2 separate regions of the Homo sapiens genome follow, and region 1 is linked to region 2. The links are contacts of gene promoters, found by promoter capture Hi-C in blood cells and fetal thymus (Javierre and others, 2016). All regions are on one chromosome and are shown on one strand. The core of a region is centred on a gene start or on the middle of the fragment in contact, and the rest is flanking DNA. Distances in the headings are between cores, read along the strand shown. Region 1 holds the start of FBXW9 (F-box and WD repeat domain containing 9). Region 2 has its middle 6.3 kb from the start of ZNF69.

What was found. Contacts are between HindIII fragments. The CHiCAGO score rates a contact against its expected background, and 5 or more counts as called.
Region 1: a contact is called between the fragment with the promoter of FBXW9 here and a fragment that was not itself captured in region 2, in 1 of 17 cell types (endothelial precursors). The highest score is 5.3, in endothelial precursors.

What each region holds. Positions count from the first base shown.
Region 1 is chr19:12,691,590-12,698,218 of GRCh38, forward strand. FBXW9 (F-box and WD repeat domain containing 9) reads right to left here and starts at 5,042. Exons shown (of 10, transcript NM_032301.3): 1 at 4,584-5,042; 2 at 3,210-3,349; 3 at 3,005-3,133. The coding sequence starts at 4,992. RefSeq lists enhancers at 4,952-5,001, 5,312-5,371. The HindIII fragment of the contact is 5,165 bases long and covers 3,947-6,629 here.
Region 2 is chr19:11,877,832-11,885,122 of GRCh38, forward strand. No RefSeq gene overlaps it. Among named protein-coding and RNA genes, the nearest start is that of ZNF69, 6.3 kb to the right of the region's middle. RefSeq lists an enhancer at 3,490-3,669. The HindIII fragment of the contact is 2,118 bases long and covers 3,024-5,141 here.

The DNA.
Region 1 (6,629 bases), core at 3,792-6,291, 810 kb after region 2:
GCCCATGGTGATAGATGCTGCAGCAAGTACAACACCCAACTCTGGCTCCAGGTGATCACCCCCATTGCATAGATGAAACCAGAGCAAGTTCAAGTTGAGTACAGATTAAAGTTTGTGTCCATGGGTCAGCCTGACTTCAGAGTCCAGGAAAGGCACACCCCACCCAGAAACTTTTTTTTTTTGGAGACGGAGTTTCACTTTTGTCATCCAGGCTGGAGTGCAGTGGCTTGATCTTGGCTCACTGCAACCTCTGCCTCCCGTGTTCAAGTGATTCTCCTGCCTCAGCCTCTCTAGTAGCTGGGATTACACGCTTGTGCCACCACGCCCGGCTAATTTTTGTATTATTAGTAGAGACGGGGTTTCACCATGTTGGCCACGCTGGTCTCAAACTCCTGACCTTAGGTGATCCGCCCGCTTCAGCCTCCCAAAGTGCTGGGATTACAGGCATGTGCCACTGTGCCTGGCCCAGGAACTCTTTTTTTTTTTTTGAGACAAGGTCTTGCTGTGTCATCCAGGCATGAATGCAGTGGTGCGATCATGGCTTATTGCAGCCTCCACATCCCAGGCTCAAGCAATCCTTGTACCACAGCTTCCCAAAGAGCTGGGACTACAGGTGCATGCCACTACACTCTGCTAATTTTTTTTTTTTTTTTTTGAGATGGAGTTTTGCTCCTGTTGCCCAGGCTGGAGTGCAATGATACGATCTCGGCTCACCACAACCTCCGCCTCCCGAGTTCAAGCAATTCTCCTGCCTCAGCCTCCCTAGTAGCTGGGATTACAGGCATGTGCCACCGCGCCAGCTAATTTTGTATTTTTAGTAGAGCCGGGGTTTCTCCATGTTGGTCAGGCTGGTCTCGAACTCCTGACCTCAGATGATCCGCCTGCCTTAGCCTCCCAAAGTGCTGGGATTACAGGCGTGAGCCACTGCATCCGGTCTTTTTTTTTTTTTTGAGACATAGTATCGCTCTGTCGCCCAGGCTGGAGTGCAGTGGCATGATCTCGGCTCACTGCAAGCTCCGCCTCCCGGGTTCATGCCATTCTCCTGCCTCGGCCTCCCGAGTCGCTGGGACTACAGGTGCCCACGCACCACGCCTGGCTAATTATTTGGTATTTTTTGTAGAGTCAGGGTCTCCCATGTTGCCCAGGCTGGTCTCGAACTCCTGGGTTCAAGCAATCCTCCTGCCTCGGCCTCCCAAAGTGTTAGGATTACAGGCCTGAGCAACTAACTGCACCCTGGCCCAATAACATTTCTAAGTCAAGTTCTGCAAGAACTCAGCACCAGTGGTGGTTTGAAGCCACATGACAAGTGATTAAGAGTGTGGCCTCTACTTTGTGACCTGGCAAACCATATCACCTCCCTCAGTTCATTCATCAGCAAATTGGGCAGAAAACATCCCTTGCCTCAGGAGCTAATATGCACAGGGTGCTGAATGCTGACTTTTTGCCCACCAATCCCGCTGAGGAGGGCAATATTGTGTATCTCATTTTACAAATGGGGAAACTGGGCCCCAGAGAGGTTGAGTTTCTCACTCAAGGTCACACAGCCAGGAAGCAGCACAGTGAGAATTTGAACCCAGCATCCTGGCCCCAAGCCCAAGCTCTCAGCTACCGGCCTGACCACCTTAGCGACTGGTGGAGATGCTCCTCCACAGCCACCTCTCACGAGATGACAGTCATGCTCAGAGTTGGCTGATCTCCAAGGGTAGTCTCATAACTGCTTTACACTGGGCCTCTCAAGGTGTACCTGACGTCTATTGAGCACCTACTGTGTGTCAAAGCCTGAGCTTGGCTGGGCACCGTGGCTCATGCCTGTAATCCTAGCATTTTGGAAGGCTGAGTCAGGCAGATCACTTGAGGCCAGGAGTTTGAGACCAGCCTGGCCAACATGGCGAAACCTCGTCTCTACTAAAGGAAAAAAAAAAAAAAAAAAAAAAAAAAAAATATATATATATATATATATATATATATATATACACACACACACACACACACACACACACACACACACACACACACACAAAAGAAATTAGCTGGGCATGGTGGCACATGCCTATAATTCCAGCTACTCAGGAGGCAAGGTTGCAGTGAGCTGAGATTGTGCCACTGCACTATAGCCTGAGCAACAGAGTGAGATTCCATTAAAAAAAAAAAATTAGCTGGGCATGGTGGCAGGCACCTGTAATCCCAGTTACTTGGGAGGCTGAGACAGGAGAATCACTTGAATCCCGGAGGCAGAGGTTGCAGTGGGCCGAGATCATGCCATTGCATTCCAGCCTGGGTGACAGAGGGAGACTCTGTCTCAATAAAAATATAAATAAATAAAGGCCAGGTGACTCATGCCTGTAATCCCAGCACTTTGGGAGGCTGAGGCGGGCAGACCACGAGGTCTGGAGATCGAGACCATCCTGACCAACATGGTGAAACCCTGTCTCTACCAAAAATAAAAAAATTAGCTGGGCATGGTGGTCCTAGCTACTCAGGAGGCTGAGGCAGGAGAATTGCTTAAACCTGGGAGGCAGAGGTTGCAGTGAGCCGAGATTGCATCACTACACTCCAGCCTAGCAACAGAGTGAGACTCCATCTCAAAAAAAAAAAAAAAAAATTAGACAGGTGTGGTGGCATGCACCTGTAGTCCCAGCTACTCAGGAGGCTGAGGCAGGAGAACCGCTTGAACCCGGGAAGCAGAGGTTGCAGTGAGCTGAGATCATGCCACACTCCAGCCTGGGTGACAGAACGAGACTCCGTCTCAAAAAAAAAAAAAAAAAAAGCCTGAGCTTAATGCATGTCCACATTAATGCATAATGCATCTCCTTCATCCTCATCCTAATCACCCACTGGACAGAAGTAGAAACTGAGGCACAGAGAAGTCACACATCTCACTCAAAGTCACACCAAGGTTAGAAAAGTCAGATTCAAATCTATGCGGTCCTGTACCAAAACCTGGGGCCTTAACCAAGATGCCCTACTCAGGCCTCATACCTCCTATCCCCACCTGACTCCTCACCTCATGGGTACTATTTCGCTTAGTGCCTAAGGTCTTGATCAGAACCTGGTTGGACTCCGTCCCCAGCTGCCGCAGGTCCCACAAGTTGACGTTGCGATCTCGGGAGCCCGACAGACAGAGTGACCCACCCTGGAAAGGGAGCAAGGTGATGTTGTCAGGGCCACCCTGGCCCACCCTGCCTGGCCCCCCACAGACCCCGTCTCACCTGGAGCAGCAGCACTGAGTCAACGGAAGCCACGTGGCCTTCGGCCAGGCAGAAGTATTCGACCCAGCGCCCATCCTCTGCCCAGCGGGACAGGTGCTGCTCCAGCGCAATGCAGGCTGCCGGCCAGTCAAAGTTCTTCTCTGTGGGTTACCACGAGTAGGGTGCCCAGTGGGCAGGGACCCTAGCACCCATGCCAGCTGGCCAAGCCCAACCCTGGCTTCCAGGGAGCCCACACTACACCAGACTTGGACAGAACCCCATGGAGATCCCTACTCCCACCCCAAGCCGACCCAGGCTGTGGTCTTGGGACCACCTGCCTGCCCATTTCCCAGGCAGGTCTAGGACTACTCACTCCAATTTCCAGAAATTGGGAACTGGGGTCTCAGAACTACCTCTCCAGGCGCCATCCCCCAACCCAAACTCAGGGCAGAGCAGTCTCAGGATGTTGAGGTCTGACCTCAGGCTCAGCATAGAAGCTGGGACCTCATGACTAACCCTTCCTGCCTCAGCCATCTGAACCAGACCAAGGGGGCTGTTTCTCAAACAGTATCTGGAAACCAGGGAGCCTTGTCAAGATGCAGAATGCAAGCCCCAGATGCAGATTCTGTGATATGGACGGGGTCCAAGCATCTATGTTTATTAAGCTGTTTGGGAGAGTCTGACCTGGGGGTTGGATGGCAACACCTTGAGAATCACTGATCCCGGAGTGATCCTGATTCCTCTCTAAGCAGAATCAAAGCTTCCAGGTTAAGGGTATCAAACACCCAAGCTGTAATACATCTTGGCTTAAGGGCCTGAGGATCCAGCTGTATCAGGATCAACAATATCGATTCAAAGGTCCCAAGCTGTCTTCCCTCAGGAACCAATCAACTCAGGGCCAAGAGCCACTGTCTCACCCCTAACTGGGTCAAGGCTCTAGGGCTCAGGAGTTTTGACATCAACAGGTGCTGTCTCAGCTTCTAAGCTGGACTCAGAACCTGAGGATCCTTGGGCTCACTTTGAGCCCCAGCATAAACTCCAGAGCCTAAGACTTCAAGTCCCTGTGTCAATCCCCAATCAGGGGTCAGTGGCTTAGTACCACAAGACCCCAAGACTGAGGATATTTGGATCCTGAGTCGTCCAGGAACCACAGCCCCATGTTAGGGTTTCACAGCCTCAGGACCCCAAGTGCCTGACTGCCTCGTGGTCCACCCAGAGGTCCTCAGGGGCTTCGGCACCACCAGTAACTACCTTAGCCTCCAGCCTGAGCCAGGACAGCCACGAAGCCTGCACCAGAGGCTGCATCCGGAACACCCCATGTACCTCTTCCCCGCCCCAAGCCTGACCTGGGCGGGCGCCCCCGGCCCCCGGTCCCCGGCCCCCGGCCCCGCGCACCTTCCACCACTGGGTAGGGCGCGCGTACGCGGCGTAGCGCGCGTAGCCTCCAGGTGACATGGTCAGACACGAGGTCGCGGAGCGCGTGGCACACCCGCGACAGGACGTGGAGCACGAGGCGGGCGTCCAGGTAGGAGCAGATCTCGAGCAGCAGCTCCGGGGGAAGGCTCAGAAGGCCCGGCTCACTTACGGCCGAAACCCTGGACGCGGCCCGAGGCTCCGAAGCGCTCGGGGACGCGGCGGGTGTGGATAGCTGCGAGGGGCGCGAGAACGCCAGCCCGGATTTTGGCGGACTGAGAACGCGGGCCACGTAGGCCTTGGCCTGCGCGTCTGGGTCTGTCTCTGACTCTGGGTCCGAGTCATCGTCCCAGGTGCGGGAATCATCGCACCGCCCTAGGGGAAGCTCCATTGCGACCGGGTGGGCGCTGCCGGCCTCGCGTCTTGTCTCCTAGGCAGCACGAGGGCACTTCCGGCGCTGTCTGATGACGTTTATGCGCCCACCGGAAGCGACGAAGTCAGACACTGGCTTAATACAGAACATCGCCCCGCTTACAGGGTCTCTTGCAACTGCGTCGGCCTTAGGCTGGAAAATGCAGGTTCCTGTTTCTGCGCTTTTTAAACTAGCCGATACCGAGAGCCAGCCAACTCTAGCTAAAAACGAAACTCAAGCCAGGCGGGGTGGCGCGCGCCTGTAGTTCCAGATACTCAGGAAGGTGAAGGGGTAGGATCCCTTGAGTCCAGGAGTTCGAGACTGCAGTGAGCCATGGTTGTGCCACTGTACTCCAACCTGCGCAACATAGTGAGACCCTGTCTCTTTAAATTAGACATAAAATAAACACTGCTTTAACGAAGGCATCTGTTATATGTGACACTGAGCTTAGAAACCCAAAGGCCCCTTTCCGAGTTCAAGGAGTAGAGATTGGAACTCTTGCCTCTTTTCCCAGAGCCAGAAATATGCAGTTACACTGCAGAGGCATCAGTTAAGTGACTTTTTTTTTTTTTTTTTTTTTTTTTGAGAAAGGAACTGGGGCCTCAGAACTACCTCTCCAGACCCCATTCCCCAACCCAACCTTGGAGGACAGCAGTTCAGTCCTCCAAGCGGAGTGCTTGGCTCATTGCAACCTCCGCTTTCTGGACTCAAGTGATCCTCCACCTCGGCCCCCCAGGTAGCTGGGACTACAGGCGCGCACCACCACACCCGGCTAATTTTTGTATTCTTTTGTAAAGACAGGGTTTCACTACGTTGTCCAGGCTGGTCTGGAACTCCTGAGCTCAAGCCATCCGCCCCCAACTTGGTCTCCCAAAGTACCAGGATTACAGGCGTGAACCATCGCGCCTGGTGGAAAGCTACCTTTTTCTTTTTTCTGAGACGGAGTCTCACTCTGTCACCCAGGCTGGTGTGCAGTGGCGCGATCTCGGCTGGCTGCAACCTCCGCCTCCCGGGTTCAAGCGATTCTCCTGCCTCAGCCTCTAGAGTAGCTGGGAATACAGGCACGCGCCACCACTCCTGGCTAATTTTTGTATTTTTCAGTAGAGACGGGGTCGCACTATGTTGGCCAGGCTGGTCTCAAACTCCTGACCTCGTGATCCGCCCGCCTCAGCCTCCCGAAGTGATGGGATGACAGGCGTGAGCCACTGCGCCCGGCCTAACATCACACTTACTAAAACAGCATGTTGGCCGGGTGCGGTGGCTCAGGCCTGTAATCCCACCACTTCGAGAGGCAAGGTGGGTTAATCACTTGAGGTCAGGAGTTCAAGACCAGCCTGGCCAACAAGGTGAAACCCCTTCCTACTAAAAATACAAAGAATTGGCCGGGTGTGGTGGCAGGCACCTGTAATCTCAGCTGCTCAGAGGCTGAGGCAGGAGAATCACTTGAGCCTGGGAGGCGGAGGTTGCAGTGAGCCGAGATGGCATCATTGCACTCCAGCTTGGGCAACAAGAGCAAAACTCCGTCTCAAACAAAAAAACTGCAGGTATTTACTGCAAGCCTCTTTTGAGCCAGGCAGCTAACCAATCCACGTAGGTCATCTGCGCAGTCCTTGCTG
Region 2 (7,291 bases), core at 2,833-5,332:
TCACACCTGTAATCCCAGCACTTTGTGGGGCTGAGGCGGGTGGATCACCTGAGCTCAGGAGTTCAAGACCAGCCTGGACAACATGGTGAAACCACATCTCTACTAAAAATACAAAAAAATTAGCTGGGCATGGTACTCCCATTCTCACAGTCATGCAAAGGCTCTTTCTTAAGGATTCCACCTGCTGGAAAGCATTATATACTGCCTGCACTGACTCAAGAGTGTCTGGTTTCATCTCCATGTCATAATTACAACCACAATCCTAAAGGGACTGATTTACCACACTGTGGTTGCCGTAAGTCCCAAATTGTACCCTCAGCAGCAACTATATCATCCCAAGTCACAGCTCTACCCTCTAAAGGTGTGCCTGAGGCTTGTGCCTGCCATACTAACACATTAACCTGTCCAAAGCTTCCTTCAGAGCTGTGTCCCAGTCCCAAAGTGCCCCTTTCTAAAACATTGGGCTAAGTGTCAGATAAATGCTCTCCAATAATCCAAAGACCAACAAATGTCTGGATTTTTTTTCTTAAGAGAAATAGTATGGCTCTGTTTCCCAGGCTGGAGTGCAGTGGTGGGATCATAGCTCACTGTAGAAACTCGGGCTCAAGGGATCCTCCTGCCTCAGCCTCACAAGTAGCTGGGAGTAAAGGCACATGCCACTATGCCCGGCTGTTTTTAAATTTTTTGTACAGATGGAGTCTCACTCTATTGCCCAGGCTGTTCTTGAACTCCAAGGCTCAAGTGATCCTCCCACCTCAGCCTCCCAAAGTGCTGAGATTACAGTTATGAACCAATGCACCCAGAACTCAAAAAGGAATATTTATAAGGGAAAATATCTAATGTTCAAATTGTTATGTATAGAGCAGTTAACGGGAACTATCATTTAGGGTCTATGGGATTCTAGGACACTAGGTATGAAACAAATATGAGGAAGGTCAGAGAACAAGCTGACTTGATGATTAATGCTGAAGGTGCCGCAAGCTTGGTTTAAGTTTTCCTCCTCCCATCCTCCCTGATGAATTTGATAAAGTTTAAAGGGATGGTTTCACCGGGGGCTTTTTCCACTGACTGCAAGGAGGTGATCCCGCTTGGTAAATCTTCAGTAGGCCAAGCCTCTTACGTGGCTAGAATGATCCAGTCCATAAGGAAATGTCACCACCTGCTGTATTTTACACTTTGACCATCAAAGGGGTACAGGGTTTCCCCAGGGAGTTTGGTGGGATTTTAATTTTTTGTTTGTTTGTTTTGAGACAGTGTCTTGCTGAAGCGCAGTACCCAATTATAGCTCACAGCAGCCTCAAACTTTGGGGTTCAAGTGACTCTCCTGTCTCAGCCTCCTGAGTAGCTGAGACTGTAGGTACACACACTTCTCCTTGGTAATTAAAAATTTTTTATGGAGATGGGAGGGTCTCACTTCACGGCTCAGGGTGGTCTCCAATCTCGGGCTTCAAGCGATCCTCCCACTTTGGCCTCCCAAAATGTTGGGATTACAGGCGTGAGCCATGGCACCCGGCCTCCCAGGCTGTTGTTTGAAGGTCTTTGCAATCTCTAAGAGTTCTGCAGCAATTTATTCCCTGACAGTGAGAGTCTCATCCTTTGACCCCATTTTGCCGCAGTAGCTGAACGTTCACTTTTCTTTCCATAAGGGGGCGAGCTTGCCAGTGACCCTAATCCCTCTCCTCATCGATGACTTCTTTGTCATCAGAGCCTTCCTCTTCATAAATTCCCACGGAATCCAAGTTTTCACGTCCCAATCGGGCTTAGTTATGATAGCCACAGGCCCACACCAGCTGCCACAGCACCCCTGTCCCATGGAAACCGCCTGACTCTCTTCTCCCCAAGCGTCCTGTCCCAGGAGCCCCCATCATCTCTGCTCCCCCGGGCTCCAGGCCCTAGAGCCGCGCTGCTGCAGAGCCCGGTTCCCAGGGCTGCTCCCTCCATATATCCACATTCATCTCCAGCTCTCCACCCTCTCTCCAACCAGCCAGGCCCGGAGGTACTGCAGTGTCACTGAACGTGCGTCCCTCAGCTGCCACCTCCACCACGATCTGGAAATCTTTTAAATGCACTTAAGTTATCTTAGAATTTTCCTTCCCCACTTTATACATAAACATAGGAGGAGAGCAGGGACTCTGCTGGTGTCTTATTCACACAATGGGATTGAGGGTGTTTGTGTCATGGAACTGATCAATGGGGTGAGAAGTAGCTGAATAACCTGCAGGGGGCAGCAGAGCCCGAGGCCGGTGACTCAACGCTGAGGCCAGTGTGGAGCCTGCAAAGGAAGGGAAAGGAGCCTTTCCTGGGGGCTTCCGGGCAGCCCGCCCTCCCCTACAGGTGGCCTCCAATTGCTCAGAGCAGCTCCAGAAGGAGTGCGGATTCCGAGAAGCTGAAGAGCCCTGGAAAGCAGAAGACCCACATGCACACGTATGTGTGGGGGTTCTGTCCTTTCTGGTGTTGTACCTCTGGAGCCTGGGGCTGTCTTCTGGGCAGGGTTTGGGGTTTGACATGCATGGGGCCACTGGGGTCAGATTTGTAAGATACAGTGAATTTCTTTAAGTTTTTCTTTAAAGATTTAGCCTGCTAACTTCCTCGTCTTTTGTTCTCAAACTCAACTTTCCTGTTCCTCCTTGCCCCTAGTTACTTTAAAACAGCCTACCCCGTTCCCATCAGCTCTAATCAATAACTCACATCTGTTCCCTTGGTTACCTGTACCCATTGTTCCCCCAAAACTGCACATCTCACATGCTCCACCTCTGTACCTCACATCCCCCTCCCCTTCTATATTTAGAAAAATATGTACAAGCAGCCAATCGGGTCAGCTCAGACTGTGCGGTCCGACCCCAGCCCATGGGGGAGTAACACAGAGATAGGGACCGCATTAAGGATAAAAACCTCCTGGTCTCCTTTGTTCTCTGTGCTCTTGTGATCTTGATTGACGTGAGTGGCACCCTTCTGCAGTAGTAAATTGCCTTGCTGAGAGAATTAAAATTTTGCCTGAGTGCTGGTTTTACTTCACGGCACCAAGCTTTTATTCCGGGAGCATTTTATATCCAACAATTCTAGGGGATCGTCCGAGATCCCCATGCTCCTTTTGGAAGAGTTCTTCAGTCACCCTACCCTGGGGAGACGCGTCCCACTGCCCCATTGCGGTGGCCTCAGGGACAGGAGATCGAGACCCACCCATTTTGACGAATAAACCCGGACTCTCAGCAACGCGGGGAAGAGAGGCTTGCAATACCGCAGCGACCAGGTAAACTCTGTGCACAGACCAAGGTGGGAAACGTTGCAGGGGCAACAAAGTAATTCTTTGGTAGTCGGAGGGGTGTGTCAGGGCATTCTGGGGGTTGAAAGTGCATGAATGGTAACAAGCACTACTGCTGTGCGGAGCGAGTGAGTCCAATCTGCGGTTCTGTGGTCACCTCACACGGCTTAGGGCAGCCCTGCGGGGGTCCTGTCACAGGTTTATACGGACCTGCCATCAATGCTAAGAGGAACCTGAAACAAACCTGCGAGGGAAGCGGCCAGAGTGGATGAAGCGAAAGAAGGGTGCAAGGAACCTCCAGCAGGTGGAGCTAAAGGATAGTGGAATTGAGCCTTAGCCACACTTCCAGTGAGGGATAGGCAAAAGACCTCCTAATATGAGGGGTTGAGCCACAAGGAACCCCCCAAATAGGCAAGAGATCCTTAATTTGAGAGGCTGAGCCACAAGGAACCCCCAAAATAGGCAAGAGATCCTTAATATGAGGGGTTGAGCCACAGCAAGCCCCCCTAGGCAAGAGATTCCTATCACGAGGGATTGAGCCTAGCCAGGACCCAGTATAGGAAATATTACAAGCAAAAAAGACAAAGTTAGCAACAAAGATATCCCCCCTAATAGTCCCCTAGGTCTCATGTTAAAACATTAGAAAGATAATGAAAAGACTAAACATAAGAAAAAGCAATTAGTGATAAAATATTGCTGTTCCATTTAGACTCAAGAACGAATCCTTGAACCCTTAGTTTTCTGGCCAGAATTTAAGTCGAATGAGGGATGGATTTGTGAACTTCTAATAGAAAATGTTGCTAGTAGAAGACCTGCCTCCTGAGAAGAAACAAATTATGCCCTATGTTAGTTGCAAGGAGTTGTCCTTTCCCCTCCTCCAAGGATTGAAAGGAGCAAGTCAAAAACTAATATTTGGAGGAAAATGAGTTGTACATGTGCCCTATTAAGATAGAACCATCTTTAATGAAAAAGACAGTGAAGGAAGGGGCTTGGGGGATCCTAGCAAAAAGAACAACTCGCAAGATCCCCTAGACCATTCCCCACCTAATACCCAACCCTTCCCCTCAGGCATCGCCCAGTAAGTCTGTTCTTCCCCAGCCTAAGTCCCTCTCCCCTAAAGAACTCCAAGCTCCTAATTCACCAGATGGCTTTTGCCAGGCTAGCAACATGAAGGATCTGCCGCAACATGTTGTCAGCGTTGTCTGGCCCATAGTGCACCCCTGCAGCGGCAAAGCCCATGCTCCTGCCCACTGGCTGGTCCAAGGTCCTGGCACTGTATTGACGGCAGCTCTGCATGACATGCGAGCCAGGCCCCAGCCTATGCCCCATGCAAACTACATTATAGGATATCTGCCTTACTTTGCTGAGGCTAAGTAATACGGGGCTTCAGCGATGGCTCCAAGCAGCCTGGCATCCCCGCAGCTAAGTTTCCTGAGCAAGAAGTAGATAATCTTTCAGCGGATATATCCACTAGCATTTATTATAGTCAGGCCAGTGTTAAAAGTGAAAATATCCACCAGAAAAGAACTCTGATTCTTTAAAGTCACCTATGTTAAAATGTACCACCAAAAAAGAATTACATGTGTATAAATATGAGGCTATTCTGTTAAAAATGATAGTTTAATGTTACTAGTAATTTGCTTAACCTAACAAGTTTCTTAACGAAAGATCCAAATCTAAAAAGGAAGCACACATGTTTAGATTTAACTGATTACCATACAAATGTCCGGCCAAACTTAAGAGAAACCCCCTTCAAAAATGATTAAAGGAAAAAGGATTCAACAGATGTTCAATAATAAATAGAGAAGTTCCTAGAGAAATAAAATTTAAAAATTGTTTAATAGTTTACCCAAATTTGTAAGCTGTTTGCACTTAGTCAAGCTTTAAAGTAACTGCAAAGGAACCATCTATACTAATCTATATTGATTCTAAATACACCTTTATCGTGGCTCATACATTTAGAAAATTTCAGACAATAATAAAGGTCAAAGCCTTGTTCATGAAGAGTTAATAACCCAAGTGTTAAATAACCTTCAGTTACCAGAAAAAAAAAAAAAGCTATTTTCCACGTCCCCAGGCACCAAAAATCCTATCTTTCAAGAGTTAAGAAAATAACCTAGCAAATCAGATAATCCGAACCAGCTGCCGTTTCTCCTGTAGGCACTGAAGGGAATTCAAATGTTATTTAAACCTCTTATGAAAGAAGTCCTATCCCACCTAAATTAGAGGACCCATTAAAGACCTCAAGCTATGTATAGCACAGTTAAAGTTTATATGTGTATGAAAATGTACATCCTTAGCCAAACAAGTCTAGAAACTTAGTTGCCATAACTCAAATGTCTTCTGTCTTCCTATTAATCCAAACTACCTCTCAAAGCAATCCACTGCCAACATTCCTACATACTTGGTTTATCTTCCACTTTCTCTTCCCTCAAAACTCACAATTTTCCAGTACAGGTGCGGCTCCTGGAGTTCCCAGTGCGTCAACACCGGCCTGAGGAGCTGGCCTAGTACTTCCCACCATTGAAACTGCAGTCTGGACAGCAGAGAAAGGATAGACCCATCACACCCGAGTCAAGAAAGCACCGCCACCCCCAAAGTCGTAGGCCATTATTCCAGGGGAAAACCCCCTCAAACTAAAGCTAAGAAAAATTTAACCTCTTACATCTATTCTATTACTCTTTCTTCTTTTCCCCTTCCAATGCTGACCACCTTGTCATTAATGTAACTCAATCAAACTCACCCCAAGTTATCACGTTTAATGCTATGTCTAGTCATACCCTGTAAAGATCTCCAAAGTCAAAGACAAGTCTCAGCCTCAGAAAAGTATCTCTGCCCCTTTAAGGTGAAAGGCCCCCCCTACCAAGACTCTTGTTCCTTAACAAATATAAGAAAACAAGTCTGTCATAGCTAGAATGATGTCCTATGGACAACCAAATGTCAAGGCTAGACCTCATCAGCAGGTGGCTGTATATCCTTAAAACCATACATTCATTTCACTAAAAAAAGCACCTCCCCAATTGCCAGTATAATCAATGTAATCCCATACAAATTTCCACCTCTACTGACCCTAAACCTACTTTAAGTCACTTCTATGGAACAGGAGCCAACTTGGCCAGCACAGACCTCATAAGATCTTTCGAAATGCGTTTTATTAATCCTTCATTCTCTTCACCCCCTTCCTTCTCTTCTCCTTCTAAGCTTTCTTCTAATCAGACTGCCACCTGTTTTCTACCTAATGATACTACTAAAGTAAATATTGTAGAAGTAAAAGATTTAAGACAAACCCTAGCAATTAAAACAGGATATCAAGATGTAAATACCTGGTTGGAATGGATTCAATATTCCGTCCGCACATTGAACAAAAGCAATTGTTACGCTTGTATGCATGGCAGACTAGAGGCCCAGACTGTTTCCTTTCCACTAGGATAGCCCTTCAGCCGACCAGGCATAGGCTGTATGGTAGCTCTTTTCCAAAATTCCACAGCCTGGGGCAACAAATCATGCCAAGCTCTCTCTCTGCTATATCCCGAAGTCCAACAACCTGCAGGCCAGCCCCCAAAGGCCATTCAGCTTCCTTCTCCTGACGTCAATTTCACCTCATGTCTCTCACGACGAGGGGAGAATCTGGCGTTCCTTAGAAGCTTAACAAGATGCAATAAGCTTAAGCCCTTCCAAAAACTTACCCATCAGTCTGCCCTTAGTCATCCTCAAGCAGATGTATGGTGGTATTGTAGTGGACCTTTACTGGATACTCTGCCAAGTAACTGGAGCGGCACTTGCGCTCTTGTCCAATTGGCGATCCCTTTCACACTGGCATTTCATCAACCAAAAAAAAAGAAAAGCCACAACACCAAAAAATAAGAGAAGCCCCTTATAAGTCTTTTGACTCTCAAGTTTACATAAAGGCCATTAGAGTCCCATGGGGAGTGCCTAACAAGTTCAAAACCTGAGACCAAATAACTGCAAGATTTAAACCCATATTTCCCCGAATAACTATTAATAAAAATGTAGCTTCGATAAATTACA